Linked DNA regions of Homo sapiens: region 2 is linked to region 1. Evidence: promoter capture Hi-C in 16 types of primary human blood cells and fetal thymus (Javierre and others, 2016). All regions are on one chromosome and are shown on one strand. Each heading gives the region's core, a stretch centred on a gene start or on the middle of the fragment in contact. The rest is flanking DNA. Distances are from core to core; before and after follow the strand shown. Region 1 holds the start of NDN (necdin, MAGE family member). Region 2 holds the start of MAGEL2 (MAGE family member L2).

What was found. The method cuts DNA at HindIII sites, captures the fragments that hold promoters and counts their contacts. A CHiCAGO score of 5 or more calls a contact.
Region 2: a contact is called between the fragment with the promoter of MAGEL2 here and the fragment with the promoter of NDN in region 1, in 1 of 17 cell types (neutrophils). The highest score is 5.0, in neutrophils.

Annotation. Positions count from the first base shown.
Region 1 is chr15:23,684,268-23,690,543 of GRCh38, forward strand. NDN (necdin, MAGE family member) reads right to left here and starts at 3,038. Exons shown (of 1, transcript NM_002487.3): 1 at 1,133-3,038. The coding sequence starts at 2,950. The coding sequence ends at 1,985. The HindIII fragment of the contact is 2,633 bases long and covers 1,769-4,401 here.
Region 2 is chr15:23,646,445-23,653,073 of GRCh38, forward strand. It overlaps MAGEL2 (MAGE family member L2), which reads right to left and starts at 1,423. Exons shown (of 1, transcript NM_019066.5): 1 at 1-1,423. The coding sequence starts at 1,298. RefSeq lists an enhancer at 1-710. The HindIII fragment of the contact is 5,160 bases long and covers 1-2,563 here.

The DNA of each region.
Region 1 (6,276 bases), core at 1,788-4,287:
GTGATTGCAGAAATGTCCCCCTTTCTCTGCAGAACCCCCTTGAAAATCTTCACAGGAAGCTTTTAAACCGGGATGGATTTCATCTCAGCATGAACAGGGGCTTCCTAAGCATTTCCAGCACCTGCCCCCACCTGTTAAGTAATGCCAGTAAGTGTTGGCAATTCCAAATTATAATTCCCTCACCCTAATAGGACTCCCAGTTTACTTCTTTGGGGTGTTATGTGACATGTGTCCTCTTCATTATCCATCTTCCACAGAAAAGTTTCTGGCTTTGGCCAAATGGTCTTTCCCACTCTTTTGTAGTTTAAAGGACTTCTAGTCTTATTAAAGCCCCCTTTCTCCCCGCTACCCCTTGCAGGACTAAAAATTCACAGTGAGATTTTTCTTCAGGCATTGCCCCTAATGCCCACCCGCAGCCCACCCCATCCTCTGAGGATTACCTAGTGGCTCACCGCAACTGAAGGGCTGCAAGGCCACAGACATCCTGATGGACAACCCACCTCCCTCTCTCAGGTGTCTTGTGTGTTTGTCAGAGAAGGTGCCTTCACCTCCAACCCTCAGGAGAGATTGTTTCAAATCCTAGCTTCACTGCTAAATAGGAATATCACTTTGTTAGGTTAATTAACCTCTCCAAAAGTAAGTTTCTTAATTTGCACAATCAGAATGATATTGCTTTCTCCAAAATATCATGAGAATTAGAAAAATAAAATTCCTAGCCTTTTTGTATGTGTGGCCCATGAACCCATGTGATTGTAGGCTCCCACATAAAATGTAAAAATAAATTTAAAAATAAATAACCTAAAAGCCACGGGGTATAGGGCAGTCGTAGGCAGGTGGAGACAAATGTGGGCTCTGGATTCATTCTGAGTTCAAGTCCTAGCTCCTTCTCTTATTAACCTTTATGAGCTATGGAAAGTTCATTACCTACATTATTCCTGTGTTTCCTCCATGGTGCAGAGGCAGTAGGTGCCTGCCTGACAGGCCTGTTGCAAGGATTAAAGGAGAAAAATACATGTTAGGGCTTAGCACAATGTCTCACTCTTTTATATTATAAATATGTTATATGTATATTAATAGATGTCACAAGACATCTATTAATTTTGATAAAATGTAGAAACTTAAGGGAAGGAAATTATTTTTGTTTTTTATTCCCATATGATGTGATTACAGACAATCTTACTGTTTTGTTTTGTATACTTTTCTATATTTGTGAATGTTTTTGAAATAAACATGAGTTACATTTAAAGACAATAGAACTATAAACTTCACAAATTTAGGAGTAATCATGAGTAGCGATTTTTCCCACCCTATTAGGGGAAATAGTTGTATCTGTATACACTGTAAAATAGAGAATTGTCTCATTCCCAACCATACTGCTTTGTTAAAATGATAAAGTACACTTTTCCAAAAATGATTGTATCACAAGAATCTTTAATGTTTACTTTAAAGTTGACTCACGGTGGGGTTGTATATGTGTTTAGTAAAGTGTGCCAAGTGCTCACACTGAGACCAGTCCAGTTCAAATTAGTGTACTCCACGAGGGTGTTTTCTGTGCCCAGCAAGGTCATGAAGGGCCTTGACTTTTCTTGGTTAGGCCGGCTTTGCTGGTGACTTCTTCCAAACTCTGCAGGAGCAGTCTACCCCAACACACATCATCAGTCCCATATAAAAGAATAAGATGGAAACTTTCTCAATGTATTTCATCAGTTTAGCACATCTCTGGTACAAAAATCCAAGAAAGGTAGCACAAAAGCGAAAGCACCAACCAAGCTTACATATAAACAAACATGCATACATCCTAAATACTACACAATAGTACCCAAATGAATACAACATTGCATTAAAGGTATAAAAGCACTGTACTGAAAACTTAAAAGTTACACGTGAATACTGCACTGTAAATCCTGAATACTATAATGACCCACCCCCACCCTTCCACAGCCCTGGTGAGGGTCAGAAACCATTCATCTGCCTCCAGACTTTGCTAGTCCTCAGAGACACTGCTGCGAGGGTAGTGGGCAGTGGGATTAGCCTCCCGCAGAGCTCTGGCCTCCTCCAGAGCTTCTCTGTATCGGGAGGGCCAGGCCTGGGGGTCTTTCTTAAAGACCCTGGCCAGGAACTCCATGATTTGCATCTTGGTGATTTCGCGGCTGGCCCGGGAGCCCCAAAAGAACTCGTATTCGGGCGGCTCCACGTATGGGACGCGCTGGTACTTCAGGTAATTCATTTGGACGAACTCCTCAGTGATGAGCTTCCGCACGTCCCCGAAGGTGGAGTGCTTCTTCCAGGGCCGCAGCCCCAGGATGCGCAGCACGTTCCAGACGGCGCTCTCTCTGGCGCCGCGGCCCTTCACGTAGATGAGGCTCAGGATCATGAGCAGGAGGCCTGTCATGGGCATGCGGTTGCTCAGCGCCACCCTGTCCAGCTCCTCGGGCTCCAGCGCTTTGACCAGCGCAAACTCCATGGTGTGCAGGCTGGTTAGCCTCAGGTGCAGCCCGAACACCCGGGCGAGGATGAGGCTGGTGCGCCGGAGGATGCTCCTGCACCACTTCTTGTAGCTGCCGATGACATCTTTCACCATGTCTGGAAACCAGATGATCATCTTCTTCTGGTCCTTGACCAGCACGTACCACATGAGCTCGTGCGCCTTCTGCACCAGCTGCGCCGGGGCTGGCGGTGCCGGGCCCGGCTGGGCCGCGCTCGGGGCCTGGTGGGCGCGGCCCTCCTCCGCAGCCTGCTGCAGGGCCTTCGGGTCGCCCTCGTCGTTCGGGGCCTGGGGAGGCGGCGCGGCCTGCGGAGCGGCCGTCGGGCCTAGAGGAGGGCTCTGCGGCTCTGCCAGGGTCGCGGACGGAGGAACCCCCTCCGAAACCCCAGGGCTGCTGTGCACCTCGGAGTTGGGGGCCTCGGCTGCAAAGTTAGGGTCGCTCAGATCCTTACTTTGTTCTGACATGTCTGCGCCGTCTGGCAAGGGCAGGGCCTCTGCGTCCAGGAGCTCTTCGAGCCTGCGCTCCCTCCGCGGATTCCTGGAGAGGAAGTGCGCGTTGCTGCGCGCGGCGCCTTCCGCAGCGACGGGCAGGGCGGGGCGGCGGCGGGACGCGGCACTGCGCCTGCGCGACCGCGGCCTTGGCCAGCGGCTGGGGGCGGGCGGGGCAGCGCGGGGCCCCGACGGGGAGGGTCCATGGCGAGGCTTCACCTGCTGGGAGAGCGATCCCGGGGTTTCCTGTTTGGGCTGAGAAGATCTAGGGCAGGAGAGAAGTGAGATGGATGCGTACTGGAGAAGGGGCCAGTTTAAGGGAAAGATACCTTAAGTTTTTGGGATGTTGGGGTCAAGTTTCTTGGGAAACGCTTACCTGGGTATATCCAGAATTAAGTTAAATATGAGAGTCCCAGAGAAAGGTCTGGGCGGCTTTGTAAACATGAGCTTTATGCGAACCAGTGAGAGGAACAGTCGGGCTTGTCCAAGAAAATGTGTAAACTGTAAAGTGGATGTCTGAGGTTGGAATCCTGAGAAATTCCAATAAAAAATGATCGACTCCCTACCAAATCAGATAGGCTATAAGAAAAGGGGAAATGCAGTGTGTCGTTAACGTAATTTCCTATCAACCCATGTGAACTATGAACTTTTTAAGTAGGCAGTGGACTTAGAGCATCATTAATGCTTTAACGGGCATAAATTTGGGTTTTACACTTCCTTTGGGTAACTTTGATTCCATTTTATTTTTTTCCATACTTAGTCCATAGCAGAAGGATTGCTATATCTTTTAGCACAAACTTGTATGATAATGTCTTTTCCCTCTGCCCAGCACCCTCATTCTTCAATTCACCTTCTCTCAGGACCCTCTCTGAAGCTACTGAGTCCTCCACGTTGGAAGCCACACCCAAGTCTTTCCTGAGATTTAAAAAAAAAATAGGTCCCATGGGTAATATCTGGTAGTGTCTCTGAGATGACCAAAGGGTAGCAGGGGAAACATAGGTAACCCTGTTTTCCAGGTATGGAAAACAGATTCCCAGTGGGCAAAGACAAAACTGTCACTCCTACAGGCTCTCCATGAAAAAAAGGGTCATTGCCTGAGCATCTGAAACCAGGGACCTTAATGCTGCTTCAGCATCCTTGGTCTGGGCTGATGTGGTCCTTCAGCTCTTCCCGGGTTTCTTCTCATCAGCAGCTTCTTAAATATGCTGTCTTGAATCTAGTTATTGCCACTCGAAGCCAAAAGCATATTTAAAAATTGTCTTGACATGTCTAGAGTCCTCACTGTGAGTATGTATCTTTTCCCACTTTATTTTTCCTCAAGCAGGTTGATGTTGAAAGGTTTTCTGTGCTTTCTCTCTTTGGGTTTGCACGCACATAACACTTTTGGCAGAGCCATTACCACACCAGTCCCTCCAACAGGACTCTTAAGCTTCCCACTTCACCAGGGTAATTCCTAGATATCAGTCTTAGTTGGAATTATTTCAACACTTTTCTCCTCCTCCTCACCCTCCTCCACCTCCTCCTTCTCCTCTCCATCTACTTCTCCTTTTTCTCCTTCTTCTATTTATAGATATCTACCATTTTCTTGGGAACATCTTACAGAAATATGCTAATTATATTCATTGTTTTTAAGAATGTCTCTTGAACAGACTTATTACCCCCATGCTTCATAAATATAATCCTCATTTATTGCATTTAAATCTCCATCAATATTATTCTTTATTTTGTTTGGGTATGTATTATTTTCTAACTATTTAAATAAAATATTTAGGCCAGGTGCGGTGGCTCACGCCTGTAATCCCAGCACTTTGGGAAGGTGAGGCGGGCAGATCACCTGAGGTCAGGAGGTCGAGACCAGCCTGGCCAACGTGGCAAAACCCCGTCTCTACTAAAAATACAAAAATTAGCCGGGTGTGGTGGTGGGCACCCTTAATCCCAACTGCTTGGCAGGCTGAGGCAGGAGACTCGCTTGAACCTGGGAGGTGGAGTTTGCAGTCAGCTGAGAGCATGCCACTGCACTCCAGCCTGGGCAACAGAGCGAGACTGTCTCAAACATTAAATAAATAAAGAAATAAAATATTTAGTTCATTTGATATATTTTTTAATAAGAAAAGTGTTTGAACCTACTATTTAAATCTCAACTTGGCTTTGGCCATAGGCTATGGTTTTTAACATTGTGATCTCATTAAAACTGCATTCTCACATGTCACCCTCCGAGATGTAATGGATTCTTGAAATTAAAGTGCAGGCTTGGGGCATGACAACAATAAAAGGTGGCTCTGCTGAAGTGAGTATCAGCGCTCTGGCCAGAGAGCTGCTTGGACTTCAGTTGCTGCCTGGGCAGGACTGGATAACTTCTACCTGGACTTCATTCTAGTGAAGTTGCCAGCATCAAGCAGACTGTGCAGAAGGCCTCTCCTGCAGCACACAACACACTACACTTCTGACAGAAGGGTTGTCCAATGCTGTACCAGGGCCTGTCGATTAAGACCACCCTGAGAGATTACACTTGGAAGGCTTAAAGCCTTAGGTCTGATGCACAAGTCTGAAATGAAGCACAGGCTAGACCTGGAGCCCAACTGTACACCTGCTAAAATGATATCATCTTCTTCCTGAAGAATGAAGAGGTTCAATTCCCCCCCAAAATCAAATTACTGGGAGTAGAAGTTTGGGTAGGTGGGGTAGTGGGACAAAATAAAGCCTGGGATAGCCTGTTAGTGGGGAAAGCACACATGCGCAGGTGCAATGGGATAGACGGGTCAGTAGCTTGATGGCTGCCTAATAAGGTGTGTGCCCACGAACCAGAGATTCCGACCTTCAGAGTAATAACAAAAAGGACCAAAGACACTGTGAGAAATGAGACGAAGCTAGTACTTGGAAGGCATCCACAACTACCTTGACCCAAGGCTCAAGATCTGGGATGGAGCTCTAATGCTGTCCTGAGAGTCATGGGGATAATAAATCTTGCTGGGTGTCTCCAGGGGGGCCCCTATTTGAGTTGGGCAATAAGTCCTCTCAGGGCCAGCAGCTTAGTAGAAAAGTGTGAAGACTACAAAAATATATCTCAACTACTCATTAAATCAAAATTCTGTAAATAGAAGTTCTGTGAATAGACACAGAAAATATACGGAGAAGCTGTAACTTAAAATATTCTGGAGCAGACAGTTTTGCTGGTGGGTTACTTCGAACTCTGTAATACGGAACAGATTACACAGCTGTGGAATAGGCTGTTCTTGGCAGACCCAGGAACAGGAGGAGAGGCCAGTCCCAGCCTTGGTTTCCATAGTGAACGGAGGAAGGGG
Region 2 (6,629 bases), core at 173-2,672, 39 kb before region 1:
GCCTGTCGCACCGGTGGTGGGCCAGGGCGGATGGGTGGTGGGCCAGGGCGGATGGGCGGGGGCCCCTGGCGCATGGGCGGCGGCACCTGCCAGGTAACGGCTGGTGCCTGCCAGGTGACCTGCGTGGTCTGCCAAGTCAGGGGAGTGGCCTGCCAGCCTTGCTGCGTGGCCTGCCATCCTGGCGAGGTCGCCTGCCAGCCCGGGGGTGTGGCTAGCTGCGCTGGGGGTGCCTGCGGGCCCTGGGGAACCTGCGGAGGAGCCCTTATAACTTGAGACTGGATTTGCAGGATCAGAGGCTGAGCCTGCGGGGCCCAAGAAGCCATCGGCTGTGCAGGTGGGGCCATCGGCTGTGCAGGTGGGGCCGCCGGCTGTGCCATCGGTGCTCCTGAAGCTGGAGGCTGGGTCATCGGAGCTCTCGCACCTGGAGGATGAATCATCAGGACTCCTGGACCTGGAGGCTTGGCCATCGGTGCTCCTGAAGGCTGAGGCTGGGTCATCATGGCTGCTGGAGGCGGCTGGACCATCGGTGCTCCCGGAGCAGCAGGCTGGACCATCAGGACTCCCGGAGTCAGAGGCTGGGCCATCAGGACTCCCGGAGCTGGAGGCTGGGCCATCGGTGTACCCGGAGGGGGAGGATGAGCCATCGGTGTCCCCGGAGGTGGAGGATGAGCCATCGGTGTCCCCGGAGGGGGAGGATGAGCCATCGGTGTCCCCGGAGGGGGAGGATGAGCCATCGGGGTCCCCGGAGGAGGAGGATGCACCATCGGGGTCCCCGGAGGAGGAGGATGGGCCATCGGGGTCCCCGGAGGAGGAGGATGGGCCATTGGGGTCCCCGGAGGGGGAGGGTGGGACATTGGGGTCCCCGGAGGAGGAGGATGGGCCATGGGAGCTCCGGGAGCTGAAGGATGCACCATCAGGACTCCCGGGGTCGGAGGCTGGGCCATCGGGGCTCCCGGAGGTGGAGGATGCACCATCAGGACCCCGGGAGTCGGAGGCTTACCCATCGGGCCCCCCAGCGGGGGAGCCGGGACTATCGGGCCCCCTAGGGCAGGAGGCTGGGTCATCGGAACCACCGGGGCGGGCAGCTGGCCCTGTGGGGCCTCCCAGGCAGGCTGAGGTGCCTGCCAAGCGGCCAATGAAGCCTGCAAGTCAATTGGAGGTGGATCCCAAGGGACTGGCGGAGCCCGGGAGGAAGCGGGCGGGGCCCGCATCAGAACCGTAGGGCGGCTATAGACAGGCGGCTTCGGGGCCTCCGCCGGAGGACTCGAGTCACCCAGATTCTTACTTAGCTGCGACATGTCCCTTTGCTGACAGCTGGTGGGTCTTTTCCTCGGACAGCTGCTGGGCCTTTTCCTCCAGAGAGAAGAGAATGCCTACGTGGCTGTTCAGAGGCTCCCTCCCTGCTGAATGCTGAATAGGAAGTGAGTGCTGCTCGCTCCGCAGCTTTCCGCAGTAAGGAGGAGGGGGGAAGGGGGCTCAATCCCGCCCCTTCCCCGCCCCCGACCACCACAAGTGGATATTGCATAGGGGCGTCTACCGGAGTCCTGGCTGACACAGGATCCCTTCTCACTCTGTCCAGTCCCCAAATGCAGACCAGTCAGACTCCACATGGATGACTTTTCACAGGGGAGTGACAGGAACCCATCCATGTTTTAGAAAAATCACTGTACTGCAGTGTGGAGTGGGAGCAGACCACTGGAAACATGGAAGGTATCCAAGACGGCGGGGGGAGATGGTGTGGTCTGGGCTAAGATGTGAGGCGGAGAATGAAAAAAGCGCATTTACATAAGAGAGTTCCAGGAGTTATAGCAGACAGATACCTGTATTATAATTGAATAAAGGAGTCAAAGACATGGAAAAGGCACACAAGTCCCTGCCTGGAGAAAGTGGGAAGTTGCAGGGACTGTTACTCTCTTAGGGTCCCAGGAGAGGCACACGGGAAGAGAGGCTGATGAGTATTGGCAGACACAGGGCATTTGCGGTGCTGTGGGACTGCCAAGGAGAGATACCCTGTAGGCACTCCTGTATGATGTCTTGGGAGTCCTGCTTGGCTATTCCTCATGAAAATAGAGTTGTGGGAGGGAATGTGGTTGCACTGGGTCTTGAAGAACACAGGCATGTTAGAGACACATGGAGAAAAGGGACAGCAGCGAGTAGAGAGAGAGGAAAAGAAGTCACGGAACTGAGACATGCCACACATCAGTGGAAGACAGCATTTTTAGTATGGGAAAACTGCCTGTGGAATGGCTCGGATGCAGGAACAGAGTAGGTTTCTCAGTATTTTTCATCTGCAGAATGGGAAAGAAATTTAAAAAATGAAAACCAAATAACGCACCTGAAGATAACAAAATGGGTATATAAATAGATCAAAAATTGATATATTTGGATATATAGGAAAAACAGGCAAAGAATAAAAAAATTTCTGGGGAAACTTCTCGTGACAAAAATCAGTTTAAATATGAGACAAATCAAGTATTAACAGATAAAGCAGATGACAATAGTATTATTGGGCAATGCTATACAACTTTATGGTGAGAGGAAGTGATAATCTCAGTAATTGAAAAGCTTTCTGGAAATATACAAAGCACTAAATATCAAGGATGTTTCGTTTAAATAGGCTGTTGGCAGCCTACGGCAGGAGTCCAGAGTGACAAAACGTGCCACCAGGGGGCAGATGAGGACGATGAAGGGTACACCCCACTCCTTCCCAGGTACCCTTAGCCAGGGGTCCTCAAATTTGGTAATTTATGGACCCAAGAGAAGGTATGTACACACTCCCAATGTTATTATTGCCTTAAACAATAATAGAAGAATTTGGGGGTAAAGTTTCAGTGATTTTCTGGACACTTAAGGGATGTTGTTATTCCCAGGAAACTCTTTTCAAAACAGTCAGATTTTTAAGGGTGCTTGATGATACAGTAGCCCCCCCCACCTTACCTGCAGGGGATACATTCCAAAACTCTCGATGCCCGAACCTGGAGACAGCACCAAACCTTATATATACCATGTATCCCTTTCATTCTCCTTCTTCACAATTTCACAGATAGTTTTGTTTTTGCCATATATCTTAGCAATCTCAGCATGCGATTTTTTCTTTCCTTATTAAGTCAAGAACTTTCACCTTTTTCCTTCAAGGAAGCACTTCATAGCTTCCGTTTGGCATACCTAAATTGCCAGGATCACTATTCTTACATTTTGGGGCTATTACTAAGTAAAACAAGGGTTCCTTGAACACAAACACTGGGAAACCGATGGTAGATCTGATATCTGAAGCAGCTACTAAGTGGTTAATGAGCAGGTAGCGAATACAGTAGCACTCCTGTGCCTGCAGTTTCACATTGTGTGGTTTCAGTTACCTGCAATCAAATGCAGTCCAAAAAATTAAATGGAAATTTCCAGAAATAATTTATAAGCTTTAGATTGCATGCCATTCTGAGTAGTATTATGAAATTGTTCTGTTTCGTCCTGCCTGGGGCATGAATTATCCCTTTGTCTAGTGTATCCATGCTGTATATGCTACCCGCCTGTTATTCACTTAGTAGCTGTCTCGGCTATCAGTTGAAAACATCGTAGTACATATAGGATTCAGTACTATTTCCAGTTTCAGGCCTCCACAGGGGGGTCTCAGAATATATCCCCCAAGGATAAGGGTGGACTACTGGACATCACTCCTGTGTATCCCCAGAGAAGGCCATCTACCACAGCACACAAAAAGCTTCTGCAGAATGGATACTACCGTGTTTCATGGTTTTCGTTTCTCCCTTGGGTTAATGGCCCAGATCCACACAGGATTTCTCAGTTTCATGGGGGTTTGGAAACACTGTAGAAGGACAAACTCTAAATGCCTAACCCTCAGGACCTGCTATTATCAACTCTGCTACATGGCTGTTACTGGCTATGGATGGCTTTGGAAAAATCAGTTTATTTTTTAGCCTAGGGCATTTCTAAAGCATACTTTTTTTCCACTCTAATGCAAATGTATAAACTACACAGAGATTAAGTTCTCCCACTAACCGTTTATTTTCGGGAATTATGACAGGTTTGTCCTGCCGTCCACCATGCTGTTGGTCATCCCACACAATGAATGGCTCCCACTAGGGTCTGGCTATTCTCACTGATGTTGGAGGTCAGTGAATAGCACTGACATACAGTGTCAACTCCCACCGAATCTGTTCTATGAAAAGAGGTCCGGTTTATGTTAAGAGGCAACACCAAAGCCAGAAAGAAAAGATTAGGCATTATACAAAGGAAAAAACAGGTGCGTAGGAGTAGTTAGAAATGGAAGATGAATAACTTCTACACCAGCACTATTGCCACTGCTTGGAAACATTCTTTAACCGGCAGGGAAAAATCAGAGATTATGTATCCATTGATTCTATAGGAACAAGTAAAGAGGGTAAACCCAGTTTATTCTCCCTGGAAGAAACATCTGCTTATTTCAGATAGTCAGTGCTCTCAGACCCAGGCTGTTCCTGGGGCTCTCCCTAGCTATTTACAAATTACTTGTGAGCAAAATTCACCTGAGGAAACAGGGACATACGGGTCGTTTTTGAAAACTGACTGCCTTAATCACAGCAAAACATAATATTGCCCTGAGTCTAGTGAGGCATTAGACCACAAGTGTTGGGTCTTCCCAAATCACTCCTGTGAAACCTTCCTGCTTCCTGAAGCCCTCTTTCCCTTTCTGTGCATATGTTCTTCCTCCTCAACACCTTTGAACCAAGTGTTGTCAAAATTCCCTTTCCTCACTTTTATATGAAACAGCTTGAAAATTCAAGGTGAGTAGAAAACAAAAGGGAAAAACATACAAAACATCCATGAAATGTTGGCCTCTGTTCCCTAATTAGAAAGGACTTTTAATGGCTTACGTCAGTATATAACAGCAGTATACAAAATGATTTTTAAAAACAGGGAAGGGAGAACTGAAGTATTGTGATGGGAGTAGGAAAATTGCGGAACTAGGAGCAGACGGGAGCCTGTTTTGCTCACCTTGGTATCCCCAGCTCGCATTGAGTGGTCACTAAGGAGCTACAAAATGAAATGGTAAGATTAGCACCAGAACTGCCTGTCTTCCAATCTTCTGTAGCTGTTAGACTTTGTGTAAATATTCATAAGTGAGTAACAAAATCAGTTATGATTTTCATAAACTCTAAAATTACTTATTTATGAAATACCTTTTATTAAGCATTCACTATATGCCCAGCACTGTGCTATAGATAAGACTACAGAGAAAAATCTGATGCAAGTCCTATTTACATCTATTGTTAGTCACATAGGGACATTAATCTAATCTATCGTTAGTCACATAGGGACATTTCACGAATCTATTGTTAGTCATATAGGGATATTCATATGGTTTTTTAGTACAATAAGGTGTTGTCGCATTGTTTAAACCTCATATTGGTCATAGAGGATGAAAATAATCAAATACTCACTTCTGCTTGGAACATGGGGTGAGGGGAGCTGTGATGCTGATTGTAGCAGTGAAAAGAAAGAAAACAAACCTGAGGCTGTGAAAGATTCATGTGATCCAGATAGACAGTCTAAGTAGAAAAATTATTTAAAAAGCATAGGAGATATCATAAGTATGAGGTTTGAAAAAAAAAGAATTGGAAGGATTAAAATAGTGTAACTACTAGTTATCAACAATTTATTATTTGATAAAATACCATCCTCAGAGTATAATAGACTCTATTCATTGATTTCTCACAAAATCCATAAGTATTTGGCTTGATTTTACATGGCAAGAATTTGAGGCTCAGAAGATCTAGCAATACATATCAGAATTCAGATTTAAATCCCAATCTATTCGTTGTGAGAGCTTGCATTCTTTTTTTTTCTTTTTGCCGCTGACCACCAGGCAGGGTCTTGCTCTCTCACCCAGACTGGAGTGCAGTGGTATGATCATAGCTCACGGCAGTCTGAAACTCCTGGGCTCAAGCCATTCTCCTGCATCAGCCTCCTGAGTAGCCGAGACTGCAGACAGGCCATACCACACGCAGGTGATTTTTGTTCGTTTGTTTTTCGTAGCGATGGGGTCTCACTATTTTGCTCAGGCTGGCCTCAAACTCCTGGGGTTAAGTGAGCCCCCAACCTTGGCCTCCCAAAGTGCTGGGACCGTAGGCATCAGCCACTGTGCCCAGCCCATCACTCTTACCATTACACCAGGGCTGCCAAAACCTTTTAAAATATGTTAGATATAATTAACATGCAACAACATGCACAGATCTAAAGTATTCAATTTAATGAGCTTTGCCACTGAGTAATTAACACTCAAAACAATATAAATAATAGTTTTATTATCAAACAAAATTACCGTGCACCCTTTTCCAGTCAATTATTCTATCTCCAAAAACATACACTTCCTTATTTCTCTCACCCTAGATTATTTTGCCTGTTCTAAAAATTCATAAAATGGAATCAGCGTAGGAGGGAGGGAGGGAGGGAGAGAGAAAGACACACAGATAGAGGTCAATATTCCTTTGTTCAACATTTTTTAATGTAAATATGTTGCAAGTATTGGAAGTTTGCTATTTTTTATGCTGAAAAGTATTCCATTGTATTTATAACTCCATAATTTATCTGTTACCTGTTGGCATGTGAGACATTTAAAATCTGATGCTATTATG